Regions from separate parts of the Homo sapiens genome. Here region 1 is linked to region 2. The links are contacts of gene promoters, found by promoter capture Hi-C in human tissues and cell types (Jung and others, 2019). All regions are on one chromosome and are shown on one strand. Each heading gives the region's core, a stretch centred on a gene start or on the middle of the fragment in contact. The rest is flanking DNA. Distances are from core to core; before and after follow the strand shown.

Evidence for each region. The method cuts DNA at HindIII sites, captures the fragments that hold promoters and counts their contacts. A contact is called where the count stands out against the background at its distance.
Region 1: a fragment that was not itself captured here is called in contact with the fragment with the promoter of TBC1D15 in region 2 in 1 of the 25 tissues and cell types used here (liver).

Annotation. Positions count from the first base shown.
Region 1 is chr12:71,443,431-71,449,363 of GRCh38, forward strand. All of the region lies in intron 1 of LGR5 (leucine rich repeat containing G protein-coupled receptor 5), which reads left to right. The region is part of intron 1 of LOC124902962 (a long non-coding RNA gene); the gene reads right to left. Among named protein-coding and RNA genes, the nearest start is that of LGR5, 6.6 kb to the left of the region's middle. The HindIII fragment of the contact is 4,341 bases long and covers 913-5,253 here.
Region 2 is chr12:71,837,868-71,843,714 of GRCh38, forward strand. It overlaps TBC1D15 (TBC1 domain family member 15), which reads left to right and starts at 1,892. Exons shown (of 17, transcript NM_001146213.3): 1 at 1,892-1,944. The coding sequence starts at 1,915. The HindIII fragment of the contact is 9,599 bases long and covers 40-5,847 here.

The sequences.
Region 1 (5,933 bases), core at 1,833-4,332, 390 kb before region 2:
CTTCTCTCCCCCTGCTGCCCCAGCAAGTGGTTATGGGCTCTGATTTTACTAACAGGGGCTAATAAAGTTTACTTAGCAGAAAATAAGGAACGCACCAAGGTTGAGATATAAAAGCAGACAATAATGGTTTACAACATTTAATACCAGTTGTGATCTGTCCTAAATAAAGTAGTTCTAACATCTAATCTTAGTATAGGTAAGTTATTTTAATGCATCAAATGTGGACATTTTTATTAATAGGGTCTTAAAAGTAAACTCCTCTCTGCTACTTTGATGTGTCTGTCTAGTTAGTGTGACATTCAGATAGAAAACTGAATCCTAATGAAGATCCTAATATAATAAATATACTTTTCTTTATTGGTCCAGAACAGCTATTTTATTTTAAAAAGAAAACTGAATTTTTCTTTGCTGTTCCTTAAAGGCATTCACATTTCATCCACAAGCAAATGTATGTTATATAAACCAAAGGGACCAAGAGAAAAGATTTTTTTTTTTAATTATATGTAGTTTGGTTACTTTTTCATATGTAACTTTGAAACAAAATTTAATTTTACACATAACTCCTAAAACTAATGTTAATAAGAATGGAACAAAAGCCACAATTAGTTAAATCAGGCACCGCCTTAATATCATAAATGTGTTTTAAGTGTTTAAGATGCAGTTTCAAGATGAAAGATCCTTTTTAGGATCTTCTTTGAAAATGAGTTAATATAGTTCTGCTTCTCTTATCTTAAATAAAAGAAAATGTACTTTAGAAATGATTACAAAAATAGTAACTCTTATAACAGCCTTAACATTTAGATCAATTACAAACATTATACAGTTTGCTCTAAAATGTACTTTTAGAATTGTTTAAAATATAATGATGCCAGTAAATTTTCTTCATTTTAATGAAGTTCTTTCTTTTTCTCCAGGATTCCTGGGGATTTTTTCCATAGTGTTTTTGTTATAGGGTGAATTATTAAAACTAACTGATAATTAGTCTAAGTAATTTTTTAAAGTAGTGAGCTCATTCAAACAATTTTGTGGCATAAATTTAAAATAAATATTTACTGAATATATTTAACATATGCATGGCAGAGTTGGTGTGACAAGAATGAATTTTTACATATAATAAACATGATCTTCAGTTTTTTTCTTTCTTCCTTATGCATTTTCCTCAAAGTAAAGGAGTTCTGATGTAGCAACAAAAGGTAGCAATCATAAATGAGTTAGAAGATCGGAATCAAGAAATAGCCTGTGTAGTTAAACAACATCATGTTTTGATAATAGACCAGTCACACTTGGGTGTGTTTAAAGAAGTTTAGAAACACAAAACTGGTCTATGATTTCTGAGAGTTAAGTATTTTATCTGAACTATTTTATTGTTTTCAGTTTTCAAAATATATATCTATCAAAGGCATAGAAATTTCAGACCAAACAATTAACCCAATAAAGCTATCAAAATTAAAGACATTATAGAATATTTATAATTTTATAACTGATACTTAATTTTGACTTACCTTAGCAAAGCATTTTTTTATATTTCTTCTATCAAATTCATGGATTTAAGTCATTTTAGCTACAAATTTAAGTATGTTTCTGAATGATCTAAATCACAGGCCATAAGACAGAAATGAAAAACAGTAGTGGGTTGTCCAATGAGCAATTTTGTGAAGTAATGTTTTTGTTTGGTTCAGTTATTATGCAAATTTAGAATAAAGCTAAATGGCACATTTTCTTGTAAACACTTCCTCAATAGATACTTCTGGTAAACTGAAGTCTTCATGAGAAGACAAATTCCTTCCTATAAGATTCAAATTCCTCACTCCAGTTGCAATATTTTCCTTTATAGAGCCTCATTTTGTAGTAGAGAGATGAATCAGACTGGCACTAAAGCCACAACTGGTATATTACAAATAAAACAAAATGAGCTGAGTATCTAGTCCTGTTGCTATTTTTGATGTATCTTGGTAGAATTTCACTTGTTAAATCGGCCCATGAGTTCTAGCCCACTGCAACTCTTTCATTCCCAGATCTGTCAGCTTTAATCCACACTTTAATTTAACCATTGTAAATAACCAACTACATGCCCAATTTCACCTATGGAACTCTATGCCAAAAGGAGACATTTCATAGTCTATAATGTGGAATTTTTAATTAAATTCTCATAATTCAAAACTGATTTTGTTATCCATAAGTTATATGGTGGGAAGCAGGTCCGTTCCTAAAATCTGTGGCATTTTTCTGTTTAATGGATTAAGCCCAATGGGAATGCCTGGCTTGAAACTGGAACGGAGAAAAACGTTAGTCATTTGATTTCAAGAAATGGAATAATGTATCTAGTGGTAATGCTAAAAGGCTCTTAACAGGATGTTAGCATTAGTGGAAAACTATTCAAAAGATGTTTCATAAGCAGAAGTGCTTCCGTATATCCTCATGTATTACTTCTCTTTTTAATGTTTAAGTCTGGAATTGGAGACGCTGAGATTTACTTGGAGAGTATGCAAAGGAACCAACTCCTGACCGTGTAAACAACTTCCTGAAAGTCAGATGGAATAACACCCTAGGGTTTCATGGTGGGCTCTTTCCTTCAGGGCTTATTCTTCTTCTTTGGCTGTGAGCTCCTCCAGGGTAGGGCATTTTCCACTTTATACCCCAAGTGCCCATACCAATGCCTGGCTCTTAAGGGAGTTCAGTAAATACCAGTAATGTTGAATTGAGTAGAATTGGCTGAACCAGCTGCTGAAATCCCAGTGGCTAATAGGAGTCAGAGAAAGACAGGTGAGAACTACTAGTCCGCAAGTACAAACAACACAAGGCCACTGGCCACAATTATTGTCCAGCCCCATTTGAAATACAGCTGAATTGTGTTCAGTTTAAATGATGCAATGAGTTGTTTATTTTAACACATGCCATGATTTACATGTATAAATTACTTTATTATTGTAATAGCAATAGTCATAATAACTGATAGTTGTATTGTGTTTCCTAAGTGTTCGGCACTAAATACTTCACTCAGTCATAGGCCCCACAAAGATACTAAATACTTTACTCAGTCAATACCCCCCTTGTGGTGGGGCAACTTGTGACGTTAGGAATGATAATAGTACCTCTTATTAGGTAAGCTTACTGTAAGCTTATTTCAAGTATTTCCATTGCTCAAAATATTTTTGGATTTCCTTTGAAGTTATCTTCAGGGCCAGTTTACAGCAACCCAAGAAAACAGGCTTTCCAATTTATACTTATGCCTTGTAATCATTTTAATTGGTGCTGAAATGTTTTGGCCCATTTTTCTTTTCAGGAACACAATTTATGAAGCCCTAATACCAGAAATATTTTTTCAGGGAATTCCAGAGCAAAATGCAGTTTTCAATTTTCCAATAATGTGAGCATTACATTATATAGTTTAGGGCCAATATTACAAATTTAGTAGACATCTTTTTATATATCCATTTTCTTACTACCACAGAAACAATTTTTCTTGTCTTCAAATCAGAGATAAGTTGCAGTAGCTGCCAGAGTATTGTGAAGAGGGATCAATAGATTAGTAACCACCTAGGCAAGAATAAAACTTTTTTCCTATAACCAGATCTATGTGTCAAATTAAGTAGCTGCATTCTTTGGAACTATTTCTCAGTTCAGACAGACATGAACTTTCTTAACAGGCAAATTCTATTTGAGCTTGTATTCACCTTTAAAATGGATGAGATGCGATACATTGTTGTCACGAAGGTATCAGAATGTTATTCATTTGATTCACAATAGAAAATTGTTTCAAAGTTTTATCAAATCCCCCAACATATTTTTAAACTTTGCATGCTTTGACAATTAGTGATACAGACTTATGTGTCAATTAGAAATCTGCATAAGTCATAGAAAAGTCCCCTCCTTCAAATAATGAAAAACCTTTTCTGAACTATGCATTTAATTTCCTCAGTCCCTTGATTCAGCTTATTAACCTGATATACATTAATCATTTATTGTATTACAAAGTCAACAGAAAAAACAGTACTGATGTTTAGAAAAATTAGGATATGTTTGGGGTACAGTCTCTAGAATGTTTTAAAATAGTACTCTCATACTCCAGCTTTTTACTGACTTAACAATTTATTCAACAATCTCTAATTTTCAAATGTCCTATTTTTTCTATATGCACATTTTCCACACACTCATTTTATCCTTCTTGCCTTCAGAAGGAGTGTTTGCTTCTTCTTCAAACAAGGACTGTGATGGCCAAGGGGGAAGAAAGTGTCTCGTGCACACTAATACACACACCAACAAGAAACAATTCCCTTTGTGCCACTTGCTTGGCAGAAATGATACAAACATTGGCAGGGCATAGCCGTGAAGGGCCGACCCTTTACAAGGGAGAGACTGTGGAACTGGCTGCTTGAAGGCACCTTCAGTTCGGTTCAGAAACTGAAATGCAGAAGACAATCGTCCTGGCAAAGGGAGCCCAACTCCAGCTGAGAACGCGTGCATGGAGCTGACCTCCCTCCTCAGCCTGCCAGGCGAAATTAAGCTTTCCTCAAGTGGTCCCTTGTTAGCCTGTCCTTTTTTCCGTGTTGCTCATCTTTCACAACTAGAAGCCAAGTGTTTCAAACTGTTCCTCAGTTTGCAGCCAAATTCCTTTATTTCCCCCTTCCTCCTCGTCTCCCTCACACACACACAAACACACACACACACACACACACACACACAAACTGTGGTGACTAACCTTACATGCGTGCCTTCTTTTCAAAGCCTACACTGAGAAAATAACCTTAGAATTTTTAAGTTTCACTGAAACACTGGTAAATACTTTTGTTCTCCTTTTTTCTTGAAACCTTGATTAAGTGGAGCAGAGACCTCTACAAAAGATGTCGATTTGTAAAAATAACCTTTCTTTAATCAAAAAAGCCACAAAAGTGTACTTCTCAGGAAAGTAGAAAACCACACATGATCTCAAGTGGAAAAAATATAAAGAATTTGCTGAATTTTTAACCTTAGTACATAACAAGGATATTATTTTAAAGTTGGTTGGTTAATGTGGGCTGTGTTAGAACTTCCAATGTGTTGTGTTTGGGTTGATGCAATGTTATTTTAATGAGTTTATTGGTTCGATGCACAAAACACCACATGGTGCTTGAAGGTTTTAGGTTATAAATTTTCTCGTGAGGCACTTACTTGAAGGAACTCTGTTACATAATCAATTGGTCTTTAAATCTATCCGCACAAAATACAACCTTTCAGTTTTTTACATATATGGTTGTTATTATGTGATTATGAAAACCAAATAAAAATTTCCATAGAAGATGTTATATTCCTTAATGAACTATTTTGTATATATATTGAAGTTTTCACAATAAACATTTATTTCACAGTATTTGTTGAGTGAATCTACAAAGTGAATTTGGAGTCTTCTAGTAAAGACTGAGAATAAAGGATCTTCCTCTTTATTTTGTCTTTGTACTTCCTGTCCTGAAGGGACCCTTAGCAGACATGCCTGCATTTGGCAATAGGCCTACTCTATCATTGTTACAGTGTTAACTGTACAATAGAGAAAAGCCTAGAAAAAGAATGGCAAGAGAGGTGGAAGGGCTAATGGAAGAAATTTGCGACCCAAGGGACAGTGCTGACGGAACTGAGAGACTGTGAGTTACTGGACTCCACTAGACACCTGTTCCCAGGGGATACGCTTCTCCTGTGTCTCTCTTTGCCTTTCTCCATCCCTCGCTTCAAGATAGTATCAGAGAACTGAAAGGATGCCTTTTCCTTATCTCAGACACTTTTCCCACCAAGGGCGTCAAACTAGAAGATGAAGGGAAGTTTAGAAAAAAGAGTCCTTGGGATTTAAGTATCAACTCCAGTCACCAAAATTGGGGTCTCTGATTTTAATTTGGAAAAGCTACATTACTGTTCCTGTGGTGGAAGATCTTAACTCATGCGCAGCCCCTGTTCTTCAGCAGCTG
Region 2 (5,847 bases), core at 642-3,141:
AACCTGAGATGCCAATGATGCTTTTCAATGAGAAGCCTGTAGTTCTCAAACTTATATTTTAAAATATAAGTAATAACTACATTTATTGAGCCTTTTATTCCTGGCACTGTGCTAAGGGCTTCAAATTTTCTCTAAAACACAGGGTGTAAGAAATGTGATGTCACATTAAAATTTTTCTCTAACCACATCCCAATGCTCTGAGCTGGTGGAAAATGTAATTTGGGTCATCAGTAGGATTTTCCACTCCACACCCAAGATTATATGAAGGTTCTAGGGGTCTTAGTCTCAGTCCAGTACATTTGGAAAAGGCCCTCTAGTCTTCACTCAATGCTGATTACTGCTAATATTCTCATTTTCCCACCTCATTCATCCCTTGTAGGTGAGCTGCTTTCTTGATTCCCTGCCAAGCTTGGGCATAAGGGTCTTGGTCATGGTTGGAATCTCAGATACCTAGCACGCAATCTCCCTAATATGCTACGCATTCATTCCCACCTAAGGTTCCACCACTTTCCTCACCTATTAGGTTCCTGGTAGTCACATAACCGGCAACTCTCCTTTTCTGTCGTTCAGCTAGTTGCCACCTACCTCAACCAAACTCAAAAGCCTCTAACCCCTCTCCACTGTGTGAAGACGGAAGTACCTCAATGGACACAAGTGTTTTTGGTGAAAGGGACTTTTTATTCTGCCCCGGAGCTAGGGAAATCCCAGATCTGTGCCAGAGTTATCAAGGGGGTAGTATATAATCATTCTCTGCATTCTTTTACAGCACTGAGAACAAGTAAAATTCTTACCTTAGTATCTTTACAAATCATTTTACCACACATGTATTGTCGTATGAAATCCCTACAACCACTCCATGCAGGAGTAATTCCCAGTTTACATCCTGAAGCTCTGATAAATTTAGAAACCTGCTTTAAGTCACAGAGCTAATAAGTAATGTGTAGGTGCTATAAACTATGTGCCTTGGGCTCTGCAGCTATGAGGGCGTGGTATTATCACAGTTCCTATCGAAATACCTTGCTGGAGGTCATGTGTGAGTGGCAGTGACCAGACAAATAGAGAAACCTCATATACAGAGGGGAAAAGTCTCCATGTATAGTGCCTGGGATATCTCCATGTTAGTGCTGCTCTTTCTTGGATCTTCACCGCAACGCCACTATCTTGATTTTACTATAAGAAACTGAGGTTTCGAGTGCACTGGTGATTTGCCTACTGCCACAAAACCAGGCTAATGGGCTGGGCGCGGTGGCTCAAGCCTGTAATCCCAGCTCTCTGGGCAAAGGCTGAAGCGGACGGATCACCTGAAGTCAGGAGTTCGAGACCAGCCTGGGCAACATTGGCGAAATCTCGTCTCTAATAAAAATTTAAAAATTAGCTGGGCGTTTGACGCGCGCCTGTAATCCCAGCTACCCGGGAGGCTGAGGCTTGAGAATCGCTTGAACCGAGTGGCGGAGGCTGCAATGAGCCGAGATCGCGCCACTGCACTCCAGCCTGAGCGACAGAGCGAGACTCCTTTTCTACAACAACAACAAAAAACCAGGACAAATCTTGCTGGCTTCCAGTATGGTATTCGTTTCATCTCACCAAACTGGCGTGGCCTGCGCTAGCTTCAGAGTCTCGACAAACTCCAATACAAGTAAGGTACACATTATTTTAGCAGTCTTCCTTGGGGAGGACGTGGGGCAAGCACAAGCGTAGCGTTAGGCCTGAGACTCCACCCCAGCCGTCTCTGAGCCCAGTTCAGCACGCACGCGTCAGGCGGCTTTTTTCCGCCCGGCTCCTTTCCTCCACTCCCTTCCCGCCACTCCCCGCCCTTTTCCCGCCCGGATGTTATTCTAGTTTTGCCGGATGTTGTTGTATGTCCGAGAGACACGTGAGGTTCTGCTACGTCATTACCAGGCACGCGCAGGAAACATGGCGGCGGCGGGTGTTGTGAGCGGGAAGGTAGGTAACGGCCTCCAGGAAGACCTCGGCTTTTCTCTGGGACGGGGATGCTTTTGCTCCCTGGCAGCTGGTTGGGGGAGGGACACGAGGGACTTTCTGTGTCCGGACAACCCGTGGCGTCTGTAGGAGAAGACTGGGTGGTACCAGCTGGTTTCCCGAGAATGCCAGTTCAGCCGCGGAGTTATAGAGCCGGCTACTGCTCCAAGGCCAGCTAGGCCTCGGCGCTCTTCTGCCCCAGAGCAGAGAGGCTTTTATTCGTATTACCTTTACTAAGGGACAGGTGGCTCTCTAGTTCCTTTTTTCCCCCGATTCACTGTTTCTTGACTCTAGTTCTTTATGTCTACTCTTCTGACTCCAGCGTCTTTTCTCTCTTTGAAGCGTTAACCCGACTTGCCTCTGTCTTCTTTGCTACAGTTTGGTGAAGATGTTTATGCTTCCTTCGGGAGGAGCTGAATAGATGCTAGGCAGCTAGCTGTGCGCTTAGAAGAAACGAGTGTATTGGGTCTGTTTTTACCAAGCTGCTGAGTTGGTTGGTGGTTGTGAGCAGCAGGACGTGTTTCCTGAGAGAAATGGAGATTTACACCATCCTGTGCTTGTCTAGGAAGGCGTCCAAATATTTATTTCCTAGGCATTTCAGTAGGAGTATTGGTCATGCTGGTTTACGGAGGTGGTCAGTGACACGCCTAATTTCGTTGGAAACTAGAATTACGTGCGGAGATTTCGTCGAATAGTGCCTATTCGCGTTCCGAGGGCACATCTTATGCATAGTTAGGGCTATCAGCTTTATGATATGCCACCGATAGTATTTCCCAGTGCAGGAGTATTTCATAAACAGCTGGAATCAACTGAAGTGACTCATCGAACACTAATGGTTGTTTACTCATTGCAGATAGCGTCCTCTGTTCCTTGAGTTTCACTCATGTCTCCCTGTTGCTTTCCCTACCCCATTTTGAATTATTTGACAGCGTTTGTGGTTTGGTGTTTGGAGTATTAGACTAGGCGGCTGAATGACAAATATGGGCTTGGTTTTGCTGTTAATCTGAAGTATGACCTTGGAAAATTGGGCAATTGTGACTTTTGTCTTTTCGCGTTCTTTATCTGTAGAATGGAGGAGATGCCAATCATTATTTCTTGTATTGGAGTTGTTAGGGTTATATAAATTTTTTTTTAAAAAAACATAAAATTACACACTTGTACCTACTGGCTCTTTTAAAGGATAGGTGGGCATCCTTTTTTGGATTATTCGTGCTCCTTGGTTGTCTTGTCAGTTTTTTTCTTTTTATATTCAGGGTGGATGCTGATATACTGCTTGACTTACTGCGTATTTGAAGATTATCCTGTTTGATTTTCCATCTAAACTGATCCAGGCTGGGACTTTTCAAGAGGGGATCCCTTCCGTTTAAACATCTCCCTCTTTCAGGTTTGGATTGATTTTGAAAGAATCCTTGAGGCAATGAAGCAGAGTTGTGAAATGAAAAACATTTTTCACTCTTTGCAGCCACTACCTTTCATAGTCTGACTTCTTAAAGTGAGACTTATATTTAGTAATTCTGCTTCATAACCTCATTTATTCTCATTCACTGCAAATTCACATCTATTGCCATCACTCCACTGAAACTAGTTTTCCATGCCAAAAGCTGCTCCTCTCCCAAGTAATACTATCATGACCAACAAAACCCACTTGTTCTTCTCTCAGTAAGTTCAGATCTGGTTTAATGGCATCATCTTTCACCTGGTTGCATGTTAAACATACTTGGAGGCATTCATTCCTATAACACTCTCTAATCAATAACCATGTCCTACCAGTTTTACCTTAAGAGGTTTCTTAAATTTACTGCATCTTCTTTACTATCAGCGCATAGTTCAGGCTTTTAGTCTGCTTCTATTCTTGATTTCTTGGCTGATTTTACTCCTTTTCTACAGTCTCTGCCCTTAATCTTCTCTACACCACCACTGGAGTTATTTTTCTAATGCGCAAACCTGATAATCTCTTGATTTAAAAAGCAAATGAAAACTCTTCACTTTTTTATCGTCAGCATAATAATAATAATAATGAAAGCTGGTTAATGTAACATAAAAAGACATGATACCTTTATGCTTCCCTACTTCCTAATCTTTTTTCTTTAGGAAAGGGGATGGGGAGAAAATGTGTGTGTGTGTTTATTTATTCATCTCCCCTCTCCCTTCAAGTTTTAGCTAAGAGTTCTAGTTTAGAAATCCAGGGGAGTGAATGTTAACCAAGGCTCACAAAAATCACTCGTGATACTTTTTAATAAAAGTACAGATGGTGGGCTACCAGCTCTGTTGAATTAGAGTCTCTCAGTGTCTCCACCTAGGATGTAACTTTTCTTAAAACTCTACTTGCTTTGAACTTGGAGTTTCGGAAAGTGATGGAGGAAGTTAATCTCTGTCTTGTAGGGAAGCAGCAAAAGGTAATGGTTAAGAGCTTGGTCTCTGAAACCAAACTAGTTTCAGAAATTATCTCCACACATTTACAAGCGACTTCAGTAAAATTACTTAACCTCTCTGTGCTTCAGTATCCTCATCTGTGATATGATAACAGTACCTACTTTATTCTTGGTATGAGGATTAATGAGTAAATATATTAGAAACTGTAGACTGAACTAATCATCATGAGGTCAGATCCTGAAATGTTTCATCTGCCCCTAACATAGATTCTGGCACATAATAGGTATTCAGTGAAGAGGAAGAAGCAAGAAGGTATGAGAAAATGAGGAACCAGGTGCCGTGGCTCAGGCCTGTAATCCCAGCACTTTGGGAGGCTGAGGTGGGAGGATCACTTGAGCTCAGGAGTTCAAGACCAGCTTGGGCAACATAACTAGACCCTGTCTCTATGAAAAATAAAAAAATTAGCTAGTTGTGGTGACATGTGCCTGTTGTCCCAGCTACTTGGGAGGCTGAGGTGGGAAGATTGCCTGAGCCTGGGACTTGGAGGCTGCAGTGAGCTATGATGGTGCTACTGCACTCCAGCTTGGGTGACAGACCAAGACCCTGTCTCAAAAAAAAAAAAAAAAAAAGAAAAGAAAAAGAAAATGAGGAGGGATTAGAGTGGGAGAAATGGGTCCATTAATAGCTCTTTTGTTTCAGAGTTGTAAAATCCTATTGTAGTACACTTCATTCACTCTAGGTTTTCCTGTTAGTGTATTAGAATTTCTTTCTATTGAAAATTACTGGCCGGGCACGGTGGCTCATGCTTGTAATCATCACTTTGGGAGGCTGAGGTGGGTGGATTACTTGAGGTCGGGAGTTTGAGACCAGCCTGGCCAGCATGGTGAAACTCTGTCTTTACTAAAAATACAAAAGCCGGGCATGGTGGTACACGCCTGTAGTCCCAGGTACTCAGGAGGCTAAGGCAGGAGAATCGCTTGAAACCAGTGCAGTGAGCTGAGATTGTGCCACTTGTTCAGACTGGGCGAAGGGCATACTGTGTTTCAAAAAATGAAAAAGAAAATTACTTGAAACAATAGGGAAATCAGCTGTTTTTTTTTCTTAATTAGAATTTGTGATGTCATTTTTAGTAACAATTTATTTTGTAGCTTAAAATTGGCCCTAACCAATTCTTTTTAAATATGCTCATAGTCCTATAAAATTTTTGTGCTTTAGAAAGATGAATATTCTTAGTATCTAGATTTTCCTGGAGACTTGTTTTCCTAGACTGGATCTTTTAACATGGTAGTTAACTAGGGTATAATAGGAGTATGTCTTATTTTTAAATTTTTCTGGCATTCTTTAGTTCAACAAACGTTTTAGTACCTCCTATGTGCTGAGTTCTTTGGATACAAGGGTGGTTAAACACAGACTTGTATTATTATTATTATTATTGTTAATTTATTTTTGGGACAGTCTTGCTCTGTCACCCAGGCTGGAGTGCAGTGGTGTGAT